Regions from separate parts of the Homo sapiens genome. Here region 1 is linked to region 2. Evidence: promoter capture Hi-C in 16 types of primary human blood cells and fetal thymus (Javierre and others, 2016). All regions are on one chromosome and are shown on one strand. Each heading gives the region's core, a stretch centred on a gene start or on the middle of the fragment in contact. The rest is flanking DNA. Distances are from core to core; before and after follow the strand shown. Region 1 holds the start of NCOA2 (nuclear receptor coactivator 2). Region 2 holds the start of SLCO5A1 (solute carrier organic anion transporter family member 5A1).

Evidence for each region. The method cuts DNA at HindIII sites, captures the fragments that hold promoters and counts their contacts. A CHiCAGO score of 5 or more calls a contact.
Region 1: a contact is called between the fragment with the promoter of NCOA2 here and the fragment with the promoter of SLCO5A1 in region 2, in 3 of 17 cell types (total B cells, naive B cells and neutrophils). The highest score is 24.4, in total B cells.

Annotation. Positions count from the first base shown.
Region 1 is chr8:70,398,607-70,405,091 of GRCh38, reverse strand. It overlaps NCOA2 (nuclear receptor coactivator 2), which reads left to right and starts at 1,284. Exons shown (of 23, transcript NM_006540.4): 1 at 1,284-1,392. RefSeq lists silencers at 508-667, 1,358-1,667, 1,708-1,997, 2,028-2,687 and an enhancer at 768-887. The HindIII fragment of the contact is 4,231 bases long and covers 1-4,222 here.
Region 2 is chr8:69,830,133-69,837,157 of GRCh38, reverse strand. It overlaps SLCO5A1 (solute carrier organic anion transporter family member 5A1), which reads left to right and starts at 2,180. Exons shown (of 10, transcript NM_030958.3): 1 at 2,180-2,304; 2 at 3,989-5,391. The coding sequence starts at 4,485. It overlaps SLCO5A1-AS1 (SLCO5A1 antisense RNA 1), which reads right to left and starts at 3,046. Exons shown (of 4, transcript NR_186568.1): 1 at 2,965-3,046. RefSeq lists silencers at 1,915-2,024, 4,115-4,204 and enhancers at 2,345-2,424, 3,855-3,924. The HindIII fragment of the contact is 8,160 bases long and covers 1,632-7,025 here.

The DNA.
Region 1 (6,485 bases), core at 35-2,534, 570 kb before region 2:
TGTGTGAAGTGAAAAGCGGCAATGACTTCGGAAGGTTTGAGGATTAAGGCCTATAGCATATATACATCACCTAGCACAGTCAGATTCACAGTAAGTGTTCAATAAACACTCTTATTGTCTACCGCAAGTGACCTTTCTCATTATAAGATTAAAATCAGGGAATATGTTCCTCTCATAGTTTGATAACTGCCATTAAACAAAAGTTTTTTTTTTCAACTAATTACCGTATAAGTTGGAAAAAAAACTTGCTTTTCCAAAGCGTAAAACAGATTGGTCTAAGTAACACTTAAATGGGGGTTCTCGCATTTTCAGTGCCAATCTCCTACGTCCCCTCAGTACTTTGTTCACGGATGTCTAGAGAATGGACTTTCCAATACAAACTTATGATTTCATGATGTGCCGAAAATTCTCAACCAGGTTAAGTTTCACACTCTGTGTGCAGCATTTGCTTTATCCCGCAATTGCCGGGTGGTGCCCCTTCCAGCTCCCACAGTCGCGCCTCTCCATCCCCTCTGGAGCTAGGACTGCAATGGGAGAAGCCTCTCCCTGTTGGAGCCGTAGGGGACTTGACGGATGCGGGGCGCCTCCGGGGAGCAGCGGCAGGACCGGGAGTTGGGTAGGGTGAGGTGCGCCCGAGGGGGTGCAGGGTGCTGGCCGAAGGGTCCGGCCGGACGGGCGCGAGGGTCCTCTGCTGGCGACCCTGGAACTCGGCTCTCCCCGATCTTCGTCCTGGGGCACCGTCCCTGCCGTCTGCAGCCCCCAGGCCCCACTGCCTCTAACTCAGCGGCCCAGGCCCGTCCCAGTCGCTAGTTTTCTTTTTGGCATTGCCCTTTGCCCTCCCATGCAGTCCTCTGTTGACTCTCTCTTCAGTTCCAGTCACCTCTAGGTCACCCTCCCTCTACCACAGTCACCCATTTTGTCCCCTGTCCCCTTACTCTTCTTCACCTCTCCCCGGGCCGCCTTCTCAGAGGACTCTGCCGACGGAGATGCTGCGGACCCCGCGGCCAGGGGCTGCTCCCCGGACAACCCTGCGTCCACCTTTGCCCCTTCCTCGGGGGCGCGAGAGGCAAGTTTCCGCCCCGTCCTTTTCCCGGTGACAGGACTTGGCGGCGGCCACTGCCGGGGAGGCAGAGGGAGGGACGGCCTGGCTCCCGAGCCCCCTCCCCTGCTCGCGAGCTCGCGCTGTCTGTCTCTCCGCAAGTGCGGAGACGCGGAGGAGGAGGAGGAGGAGGAGGAGGAGGAGGGAGTTGGGGGAGGATCTCCATTGAAATAAACAACCAGGCAGCAGTTATTAACACGGGAACATGGCGGCCGCAGCCTCGGCTACAGCTTCGGCGGCGAAGGTCAGCGCCGACGGCAGCCGGCACCTGACGGCGTGACCGACCCGAGCCGGTAACCGCGCCTTCCCCCGGGGCCGCGAGGGCGGGCGGGGGGCGGGCGGCAGGCGGGGGGCGCCGCGTCCCCACCCCCGGCCGCGACTGCCCTTCCTGCGCCGAGCTCCGACAGAGCCGTGCGCCTCCGAGAGGCTGTTTTTGTGTGCGGGGACCGCCGCCGGAGTGCGCGGAAAACGGGAGTTGCATCCCGGAGGCGCAGCGACGCTGGGGAGTTGGGGCTTGGGGGTGGGGAGGGCGGGAAGCGACGGGGAGACGCGGAGTCCCCGGGAGAGAAAGGAGGCGCTCCAGCGCCTTGCGAGAGCTCAGGAGACGAGTCCCGGAGCGCGAGGCGGGCGGAGGCTGCAGCCCGCGGCGCGGGCGAGAGGTGAGCGCCGAGGCGCGGCCGGGGGTGCGGGCGCGGCCCCCGCCCCGAGGAGCGAGTGCCCATTGCCCAGCCCGGTGCGGGGTCGGCGGAGACCGAGGCTCTAACCCCTCGGGGGCAGCGCGGCAGAGCCGAGAAGGTGAATCCTGGGAAGGTGCATTCTTTAATGGAAGCGCGGAGCGGCTGCAGCGGAGAGTGGGAGCCGGGCGAGGGGAGGCAGGACTCGGGAAGTGCTGGGGGTGTGTGAAGGTGAAGCGGGGTGTCGGGGCGGCCGGCGAGCTGCAGCGCGGGGCGGGGAAGGGGAGCCGCGGCCCGGCGGGTGGCCCGGGCCCGTGTCAGCCCCGGGGGTGGGGGGCGAGGGGCGCCGAGCACCGCGGGCGGACGGGAAGGAGCTGCGGCGGGCGGGGCGGGCGGCGCGCTGGGGCCGAGCAGGCCGGGCCGTGGTGGGGGCGGGGAGCCGGGGGCCGGGCCCCGGCGGCGCCGAGCCGGGCTCGCCCCTGACTGAACTTTCTGGGTGCGGGCGTGTATGCAGGAGGCGCGCTGGGGCCGGGGCCGGGGGCGGGAGGCGGACCGGGAGGTTCCGGGTTGGCTCGCCAGCGCCCCCTTTTCTCGCCCCCTTCTCTCCGCCCCTGAAGGGACAGGCCCTCGGGGCCCCAGGCGGGAAGCGGGAGGGGCCCTGTGGCCGCCTCGCGACGGTCACGCCCCGGGCACGGGGACCCGGCCCTCTCGGGCCCCTGGGGGGTGCTGGGGGAGGGGGCCGGGGTCGTCGCTGCCGGCTGCGCTCCCCGCCTCCTCCCCTCGGGGGAGTCCCAGAGGCGCCTCTTCCGAGACCGGGGGTGGGTCGGTCCCTGGTTAGATGGCCCCTCCCTCTTCCCCTCCCTCTAGTGGTTTCCGGGGCCTGCGGGACCGAGGGGCGGGAATCGGGGACTGGAGCCCCCTTCCGCTGGCCCGGAGCTGGACTGGGCCTCCCGCGTTCTGGGTCCGTCACTGGTAGGGGAAACTTTCCCAAACCAGAGACCGAGCCTGAACACCTTCCTCCGCCACCTCGTCCTCTAATCCCACTCCCTCTCCACCTCCTCCGACGCCTTCCCCTCCCACCGACCCGAATCTCGGTGCGTCTGACTGATGGGGCAGTGAGCCAATCGAAGGCAGGGAGCTGACCTGCCGGGTGTCGGTGAGCCAATCGTGCGGACCGGAGGAAGGAAGGGGGCGGGGTTTCTCCTGACCAGTTAGAGCAGAGTTGCATGCGGGGCGGGGGAGTCATGGAGACGCTGAGAGCCAGCTACTCTTGTCCATCCCCGAGTCACCCGCTCCTTGATTTCTGGGGTTGTGTCACTTATAGGGGCTCCGACCCGCAGAGGCTGCCGAGGCACTCGAGGTCCTGTATGTCTTTCGTACCGAAATAGACGTTGTCTTAGACACGACGAAGTCTAAAGCCACTTTAGGATGTGGCAGTAACTCACCGAGGCCGGTTTCTAAAATGGCATATGCTGTAGTGATCATGTCCTGGACCTCAGCGTCCGGTTTACATGCTAAGGGTCACAGAAGACAGAAGTTACCCGTTTACCTCTTATCTCGGTTTCACTCAGCTATGCCAGAATGGGGACAATGAAATTTGAAAGGGAACCCTGAGAATGAAGGCATGGGAGCAGTATCACGTCAACTGATTATTGGTAGTAGAAAGCATCATTGTTCATAATGGCTTCACTGGTTTCTTGTTTAATTAGAGCTCCAGTTCCCAAAGTGTACTTGAAACTTCGGCATTGGGGATGTCATTAAAAAAAAAAGTTGTGGTTTATGGTATGCATTTTTTTTTCTTTTTGCAAACAAAATGAAGTTGGGAACTAAAGCATCACTGATTGAAACATTAAGTGTGGGTATTTAAGGAGCAAAGCTAATCAAAGAATATTTGTCTACAGGAAAAAGTCTGAGTAAAATGTAGTTTGCCAGATTACTCCCACACAAAAGATTCTTAAAAATAATTTTAATTTTCTTAAACACTGCTGAATTGTACAGTGTGTGGGTACTTTTCTGGTTTATACAAGGTTTGGAGACATCTTTGGTTTTAACTGTTTATTGCGCGTTCAGTCAAGTGACTTTCTCAACTCTTGACTTTTAGGAACAGAGGTCTTTGATTCTCTGTAAAGATCACAGGTTGCTCTGCAGGAATAGCAGTCTTTTAAAAAGAAAGCAGCTGCTACAAAGCATGTGTGTGTGCGCGTGTGTGTGTGTGTATGTGTGTGTGTGTTCCTGTTCTTTGTTGGTGAGGTTAGGCACACTGACAGAAGTAATGCTCCCTTTCTCACCTGGAATTTGTAGAATCTTTGGGAGCTCAAAGAATGAAAAGTGTTAGATTAAGAATGAATTCATTGATTTTTGTCATAAGTATCCCATGAATTTAATTTTGGGAGTGTTTTCTTTTAGGTATCTTATGTGGAAAATGTGTATCTTTTCTATAAGTCAAGCTTTTATTAATCTTGGGTTGCTAAGAAAGAATCGAAGGGGACTGCAGTTCTAGGGAACAGTATTTGCCAAATCTTACAAATGTGTTCTGTTGTAATATAGTGTTTTCAAATTTACCATGAGAATTCCCAATTCAGGATCATTTTGGGTGCATGTAGACAAGAATTAATTGCATTTTGCTGTGGCTCTTGAGATGTTTTTTGTAATAAAATAGTAAAAACAGAGAAGGTAAACCAAACACTTAGACTGACAGAGAGGTAAGGAGTATTAAAAACAACATTCAAAATTTGACAACATTCAAAACCCCCCACCATTTGTTAATTTAGTTACTTATGGGCACTCTGACATATGCCCTTCTCTCTTTTGTATGCTGAAGAGCAACACATTATTTTACTTAATTCTTTGCAACAATCCTTGAAAATGTGGTAAGATTCTTGGTGGCAGAGAGAACCAAGTCTCCTAATGGCTGGCTTGGGGGGAAAAAAACCTCTCAAGCATATGGAGACATCTAGAAAAAGATGTGCATCGTCAGCTGTGATTCCATTGTGTGCTCTCAGACTGGATCTGAGCTTCCTTCCTCCTGGGAATTTCAGTCTTAAACAGAGGAGTTCTTTGACTTTTAGATGTCAGTATACTGAAGCAGGAGGGTAGAAAAGGAGCTCACCAATTACGGATTTATTATGTTTTGAGTAGTTAATATGTTTTGGATTTTAACCCTTCATTGGTTAAATATAATTTAGATGAGTGGCTTAGTGTTAGAAGAGCATTTTATTGGAAATATAAAATGTAAGGCTTGGAGGGGGATTTGGGCTGTGGATAAAGGGGTAATGCTCCTTAGTTGTCTTTATTTATAGTTGTATCTTATTAAAGCTTTCCAAGCTTCAGTAACATCAAGGATCTGTGAGCAGTCCTTCCATTATATGCCCTGTATTTAAGGATTCAGTACCGTAGCTGTTTCAAATTACATAAGGTTGAAATGTGACCCATAAGTTGACAGCTTGGATTTCTTAGGAAAAATTGTTTGTGTTGTATTGAGTTGAAAAGCAATTCTTTAAGCACTCTTTAGGATATTGGATAGTAAAGGAAAATACAAAAGGGGATGGTCTCTTTAAACAATTTTTCTGAAATGCACAGCATGTGCCCTCATTTGATATTTTGGCCATTATTGTGTCATGATCGAAGTTATATTTAAAAGCCAAGTTAATGCTTATTTATTGTTATGAAAAAACTGCTATTTAAGAAATTACTAACTTTAGTATTTTGCGTATGTAGTTTTGTTTAGTAATGTATGTTATTACATGCTTTATTGATTTTAGATTAAGAGAATAGGAGGGAGAAAATAAGTCACTGCTTTAAGGTATTGGTCTTTTATTGCAGCAAATCATAAAATCAGCAACAAATCAGGATCTTTTTCCATAGTATAAGAATAAGACTATAGTTCATACCAAAAATGAAAGCCATTTAAGGGAAAATGGAACAAAACCTTCAGTTTTTTTGTACCCTTTCATATTTAAGGCTAATTTTACCTCTCTATGCCTTACTTTTCTAAACAAACAAAAAAGGTTCTAAGTGTTTGTGTTCTAGGTGTTTGTGTTTTTCCTTTTTTGTTTTTAAAGGCTTCTAGTAGGGCTTTATGAATTGCAAGCTGTAAAAAGAATATGTCATATTACTCTCTAAAGTCTATTACAAGTAATGGCTGGAAAAGCTATGAAATACAATTTTAATGTTGCAGACCTTCAATTCAGACATCATAAAGAAAACACATCTTTATGGATTCTAGATGCTAATTTCTAGATAGAGGTGATCACGAATGTGACTTTTGTGGGTATTTTAGAAGCTGGTGTAGTTCTCTTAGCTGTGGTAAAACATTATGAAAAGGAGTGGAAATCTTAAGGATAAACTATGAAGGCAACTGAAATTAAAAGACTAGGTGGTCTGTAGGTAGATCCTAATACTGTTAGCTTTTAGGGCAAAGATTTTATGTGTTTACTCTATGAAATGTTGATCAATGACCACATTTCTGGGTCCCCATGGCTGTGATGACATAATGCAATTGTGGAAATGTTGATTCCAGGATAATTTTCAGTTGGTTCTCTGGTTGGAAATTTCTAGAGAAGAATTAAATGACAAGGGAACCTATGGTGGTGTTTTACATAGCTGTTTTTGAGGCTTTGGACACAGAATCATATAGGTAGAAGTTACTCGCAACTGGTTAAATGTTCTAAAGGAAAAAGAAAACATCTTTACTTTGACTAGGCGTCAGCTGA
Region 2 (7,025 bases), core at 931-3,430:
CGGTAACTGAGCATGAATAAAGACAGAGTGTTTCAGGGACACGATTGCTTGATTTTCAAGTAGGGAAGTCCTGTGATGTCCCCTGATGTATCACATTGAATTCACTGATGTCTGGAGCTGAGACTGAAATGAGAGAATGGGACACAGAGCTTGGAAGGAGGTAATAGGAGGTAGGTTGATTCTGTGTGGATTTAGAATCAGCTCAGAAGAGTATTTGGGTTCAGGAAGTGCCACGTATCTTTGCTCACTTTATCAGCAGTAGAGGACTAAAATCTGGGCAGGGTGGCAGCGGGAGTCCTATTGCCTGTTTGTAGAAAAGTGACTGTGCCTGATGGCGATCTCAAGAGGAGGAGACAATGGCAGGGAATGAAGAAATGCCTCGGTTGATAGGTCAGTCTTGCAGCTGCCAGAAGATTGATGCTCTCTCAGCATGGACTTCAAATACACACTGATTGTTCTTTACTGTCAACTGGCCTTAATTGTTCTCTAAGGATCGCTGTAGATACGACGGTTGTTGGACTAAAGGGAGATAATCAAAAGAATCAAGGTGCATTGACGAGTCAGGATGTTATTCAATGGCAGGAGAGAGGGTAGAGAGTCAGGGTTAAGAGGTTAAGTAAGAACATAGTCTTTTGGAGCACATTGGTTCATATTGTCTACAGAGCAGCTGTGTGCCTATATAAAGTTACTTAACCTCTCTACACTTATCACATCTGTAAAATGGAGACAATGCTTTCATTGGGCAAGGCCAAGGGCCAGTGGAGGGGCTTCGACCTGGCAGCAATGGCCAGCATGGTCACTGGTACTTGTGAGCAACCTCCTTTCCTCCATTAGAGCACTATCCTGCTCTGTCAATGGTCACAAGTGCCCTCAGATACTCTTTTTTTTTTTTTTTTTCAGTTATCATCCTGTTTGTCTTCCCTGCAGCCTGTACACATCTGACCCTTCCCTTCTTACAGTCGTCTGCTCTTTTGGCTTTTCTGATGCGTCCCACACCTCTCTGACCCTTGCTTCCAGTCTCCTTCCTTTGGCTGTACGCTGTCCTCCTAGATTCTTCACAATTTGGATGATCTTCCCTATTCATTCCATCCTTTCTCATGCCACCTTTGGGCTGATGACTACTGATCAATATTCCTAGTCCAAACCTCCTGTGTGTCCAGTGGCTTATGGGACACGTACACTGGGATGTCCCCCAAACATTTCAAACTCAACACATGTAGATGAGAACAATCTTTCTCCTAAAGCATGTTTCTCCACCTGTGCTTTTATTGGCTGTCAGGCACGTAGTCACCCAACTTGGTGCTAGAAACTTGGGAGTCATCCTACCTCGGCTGGTTTTCTTCTCTTGCAGATTGCATCAGCTGCCCAGTTCCCTCCTCTCCATGCCCCCTGCCAATGCCTCATCACATTTTGCTTTCAGACTGCCTCCCAACTCACTTCTGTGCCCGCAGTGTGGCCTCACATCTGTCTACCTGTCACTGCCAGAGCCAGCTCTCTGGTGAGGAAGTCAGAACGTCATTGCCCCCACATTATTGACAGTACACAACTTAGGAAACCCGTAGTGCCCCTTTCTACTCAGCCACTCTTGCAGTCTGGTCCTCTGCCCCATCCCTGCAATCTTCTAGGAAGCTTATCTACCTATTGACTGGCAGCACCATGCCCCCGTGCCTCTGTTCTTCCTGCTGCGTGGAAATGAAGGCTAATGGATATTGGCTACTCCAGTAGCAGGCTGCATAGATGTACCACGTTGTTTTAAGCCATTTACATGAGTATTTCCCCCACAAGCCAGAGGTTTCCTCCGACCAAGTATCTTGTCTTGTTTATCTTTGGTCCCAGAATCTACTATGGTGAATGAGACATGGTGTGTGCCCAAGGCACGGAATAAACGATCAGAAATGATTTATTTATTCAGAGTGGGCTGTCAGCTTCAGCCGCTGACTTTTCTAGAGACCGGCTCCCTCGGGGCTTCAGCGCTCTTGGGCCCCCGCAGCCACGCAGGTGAAGGGCAGCGGGGTGGCTGGCTGTGGGAGGGCTGGGCTGGGTGGCTGCCCTCGCGCCTGCGCCCTCGGCTGCTCCTCTCCGGGCGCGTCTCTGTGCGCGTGTGTCTGTTTGGAGCGGAGGAGAGGCTTGGGTGACAGGCGAGGGGTGGGGGGAAGAGTTCAGCCTGAGTCACAGTCTCATTCACTGATTTCTCTTCGGCTGGACGGAGGCTGCCTCCTCACGCGGCTCCCAACTATTCCCGTAGCTCAGTGCCCCCCTCCCGCCGCTCTACTCAGCCAGGCAGACAGACTGACAGACTCGCTAGTGAGTAGCGGCGGCTTGAGCGCCCGGGCAGCGCGGCGGGCTGTCGCCGGCGGTCTTGTCTTCCCACGGGCTCTGTGTGTGTGTGTGTGTGTGTGTGTGTGTGTGTGTGTGTGTGTGTAGGATGTGCGTGTATGTGATGTGCGCGCAGGGGGTGTCCCTGGGATTCCACGCCTGCTCCAAGAGCTCCCTGCCGGGATCCGCGTGTCCATCCGAGTCTGCGATGCTGTGAGGGCGCTCGCCTAAGCAGGGGGTTCGGACGCCCCCCGCGAGCGGCGAGAGTTTGCTGGGATTCCCCGGCTCCTCACGCAGCGGCTGGTGGGGTTCCCCGGGAAGGCGCCTGGGTAAGGCAGCGGCGGGGAAGCCCGGGATTGTGAGTGGCTGGCAGGCCGGGAATCTGGGAGCGGGTTTGGCCCAGCACAGCCGAGGGAGATGCCGGAGCGGCCACCCTTGGCCGCCCAGCCTCTCTGCCTTTCTCCCTTGCCCTTCCTCCTTTCTTTTCTCAGCAGCATCACAAAGGCGCGCTGCAAAATGAAACCCAGTGTAGTGAAGCTCGGCTGTCTCCCACCTGGTGCATATTCCGCCCCCCGTCCTTGCCCCAGGCTGGAGGAGTGGAGTGGGGGTCCCCAAGATTAGGGGCGGGGTCTTACCACGGGGGCACACCTGTTTTCGATTCTTGCTGAATTCAAGCTGGGTGCGGGATCGCGAGAGAGGTTCCAGTACGCCGGTGTGTGTGTGTGTGTGTGTGTGTGTGTGTGTGTGTGTGTGTGGCCGCGCACGCGCACACGCTCCCCAGGCCCACGCTAGCGGGGTGCGCTCAGTCAATAGCACACCTCCCCGCCGGCCCGCGTGCGCCCAGCCGGCTCCGTGGGCTCCTCGCGCGCTCTCTGACAGCGTGCCGGGATCTCTTTGTTTGGTTGTGGCTTCCCTAGCTCTCGGCAAAGCAGACGGATTTTCGGTTTCGTTTGATACCGCGCTCTGGGACTTAGTGCGGGCCACAGCCTCGAATGCCCCTGGTATTTGTAATTGAAGAGTTCTTTCGGTCAGGGGGTTATTTTTGGTGTTGGGAATAAAGAGGCAAGCATGTTGACCTTTTTGCTGCTGCCTTCGGCTTTGAATGTGTGTCTCTGGTGGAGCAGACAGATTCAAATCTAGTCGCGCACACGTGCCAACGCACACCAGTGTGCACACACATTTCTACACACGTAGTTTACCCCCACCTTCTTTTTTCCTTTTAGAAAAATTGGGACAGGGAATACATTGTGTGTCTGTGAAAAAGTTTCCTTTGTTCTTTTGGGCATTTTCTATTTTGAGTAATGGAGTAGGAGTACGGAAAGGCTGCAGTTAGTTCACTCGATTAAAAGACACTGCCTCTGAGTCAGAGCTGCCAGGTTGATAATTATTAACATATAAAAGCAAACGCAATGTTTAAGGCAGAAGGGGCGGGACGGGGGCAGGTCCGCGGCAGACAATGAGGGAGAGTCTCCGCCGACCGCCTGCTGCTTATTGTTCCGGGACTGGAGACTGCAGCCGGCTGCTGCCTAGTCCTCCGGGGCTCCGCTCCTGACTAGCTCCTCCGTCCCTCTAGGGACGGTTCGGGGTCACCTAACCCTGGTCCCCGGGGCGCTGGGACGCTAGCCCCAAGCCGCAGCCGCTCTTCGCTGACCGCCCTCTTTCTGCTTTGCAGGTCGGCAGCTTCACTCCCGAGGGTGCCGCGAGCCCAGGCGGCGAACACCCGGTACCCCTGGCGCAGCGAGGTGGGATGCTGTACGGACAGCAGCGCTAAGTGCCCCCCCACCCCCGGCGCAGGGTGCACTCGCTCCTGGCCGCGGGCCCAGCGGCGGCGGCGGCGGCGGCGGCGGAGGGGATGAGCCCGGGACGCGCGAGGCGCCTGCCTCAAGCTACCGCCCGGAGAGGGACGCCGAGTAGGGCTCATCGCAGTACCGCGCGGACCCCTGCCCCCTGTGGCACGCGGCTGCGGAGCCTTGAAGCCGTGTCTGTGATCAGGATGCACTGGGCGCCTCGCAGCTGGTGAGGATGCCCTGCTGCGCGGCCCTGCGCCCCCAGCCCCAGTCCCAGGTGGGCAAGACTGACTGGGCCCGGCTTCGGCCCCTCGTGCCGGTGGATGAAACGTGCCGGAGTGCTTGGGTGCCATCAGCTATCAAATCTGAATTCTAAGCGCCATGGACGAAGGCACTGGACTGCAGCCCGGGGCGGGAGAGCAGCTGGAGGCGCCGGCCACTGCAGAAGCTGTCCAAGAGAGGTGCGAGCCGGAGACCCTCAGGTCTAAGAGTTTACCGGTCCTCAGCAGCGCCTCCTGCCGGCCAAGCCTCAGTCCCACTAGTGGAGACGCCAACCCGGCCTTTGGCTGTGTGGATTCTTCGGGCCACCAGGAGTTGAAGCAAGGCCCGAACCCGTTGGCCCCCAGTCCCTCTGCCCCGTCCACTTCGGCGGGGCTCGGGGACTGTAACCACAGGGTGGACCTCAGCAAAACCTTCTCGGTGTCCTCCGCCTTGGCCATGCTCCAGGAGAGAAGGTGCCTCTACGTGGTCCTCACGGATTCCCGTTGCTTCCTGGTGTGCATGTGCTTTCTGACCTTCATCCAGGCGTTAATGGTCTCTGGGTACCTGAGCAGCGTAATTACCACCATTGAAAGGCGCTACAGTCTGAAGAGTTCCGAGTCGGGGCTGCTGGTCAGCTGCTTTGACATCGGGAACCTGGTGGTGGTGGTGTTCGTCAGCTACTTCGGCGGCCGGGGTCGGCGGCCCCTGTGGCTGGCCGTGGGTGGACTCCTCATCGCCTTCGGGGCAGCCCTCTTCGCCTTACCTCACTTCATCTCGCCCCCCTACCAGATCCAAGAGTTGAACGCCTCGGCCCCCAACGACGGCCTGTGTCAGGGTGGCAACTCCACCGCCACTTTGGAGCCTCCGGCCTGTCCGAAGGACTCGGGAGGAAATAATCACTGGGTCTACGTGGCTTTATTCATTTGCGCGCAGATTCTCATTGGAATGGGCTCCACACCTATTTATACCCTGGGACCAACCTACTTAGATGACAATGTCAAGAAAGAAAACTCCTCCTTGTACCTAGGTAAGACTTTCCTGTTCTCTCAGATATGTTTCACTCACACTGAAACTTACTTTCCTTACAAAAATCAAAAGGAAACATGTTCTTTCACATTTTCATGTATATTATAGATTAAAGTTCACTTTATTTTACGTTTTAGCCTTGCTGTAGTGTGTTTTCAGTTTGGGAGAGAATCAATTAGTTGAGAGTTCTTGAAACTAATTTTCAGACTCATACTTCATGTTTGTCTTTTCCCAAGTAACATAAACTTTAAACTGTGGGGTGATGCTTCTCTCTGTTGCTACCTACCTATGGAAAAGCTCCAATTTGTCAAGTTTATATTCTAATACACTTGTTGAGGAAGGAATAGCAGTACCTCATGTGTAAAGTTTTGATGATTTTCTGCTTCTATCTGCTGCTGCTTCTGATTTCTGTCCAGAGCAGCAGGGATGGTGGCGTGGCCAGACTACATACATCATGCTTTATTGCCTTCATACCTGTGTTTCTTTTCTTTTTTTTTTTTTTCTTTTTAAGATGGAGTCTTGCTCTGTCACCCAGGCTGGAGTGCAATGGCATGATCTCAGCTCACTGCAACCTCCGCCTCCTGGGTTCAAGTGATTCTTCTGCCTCAGCCCCCGAGTAGCTGGGATCACAGGTACCCATCATGCCTGGCTAATTTTTGTAGAGATGGGGTTTCACCATGTTTGTCAGGCTGGTCTTGAACTCTTGACCTCAGGTGATCCACCCTCCTTGGTCTCCCAAAGTGCTGGGATTCATACCTGTTTTTCTTATACGTCACCTGCACCACTATCTAAAAACAACAACAAAAATTTGAATAATGTCAAATGACTGGCTTACCTTTATGAAGAAGCAACACCACAGGTTATAAGGTTTATCCAAAGCTATTTTTATTGCTGTCAAAAACCCTCAATTGTATGAACTTGGGAGAAGAATCCATTCCTATTTTTCTGAAAAGCCGTGGCTGTGGGATTTGGTGTGTTGACTTGCATAAGTCAGCATCAGTGGACAGGGGTGCTTGAGTTAAGTACAGGGGGCTCATCTGAGGCCAGGCAGCAGTTGCAGAGGGTATGAAAATTTACATCCTAGAAATTTGAGGTTGTTAGCACCTCCCTGTAGTAGCTGGTTCTTAAAAACTGAACTTCTAAGGGATGGATTTGAACCCATAAGAAGGATCAATGGCTGTCATACCAGATGAGATTTTTGTTTTTCTATTTCTGTACTGGAGTGCAACCTAAACAAGCTAAAGGATTTTACTTTACTGAAAAAACTGAAATGGAAGCTGGGTGTGGTGGTGTGTGCCTGTAGTCCCAGCTACTCGGGAGGCTGAGGCAGGAGGATTGCTTGAACCCAGGGACTTGAGACCAGCCTGGGAAACATAGTGAGACCCCATCTCTTAAAAAAATTAAAATGATAAATAAGCAAATACTAGCTATATTTAGCAATTTATTAGCAATGTGCTGATAGGATTCTTGATTTGGGAATAGTAAGATTTTCAAAGGACGGTGTAAATGATATCCAATATAAGAGGGCTATGCTTTGTCCTCAGTATGTTTACTGTCCCCAAAAGCTGTTATAGAGGGGTGTTTGAGTCCTCAGTAATCCCCACTAACTGGTTCAATGGGTCAGAAAAAGAGTTT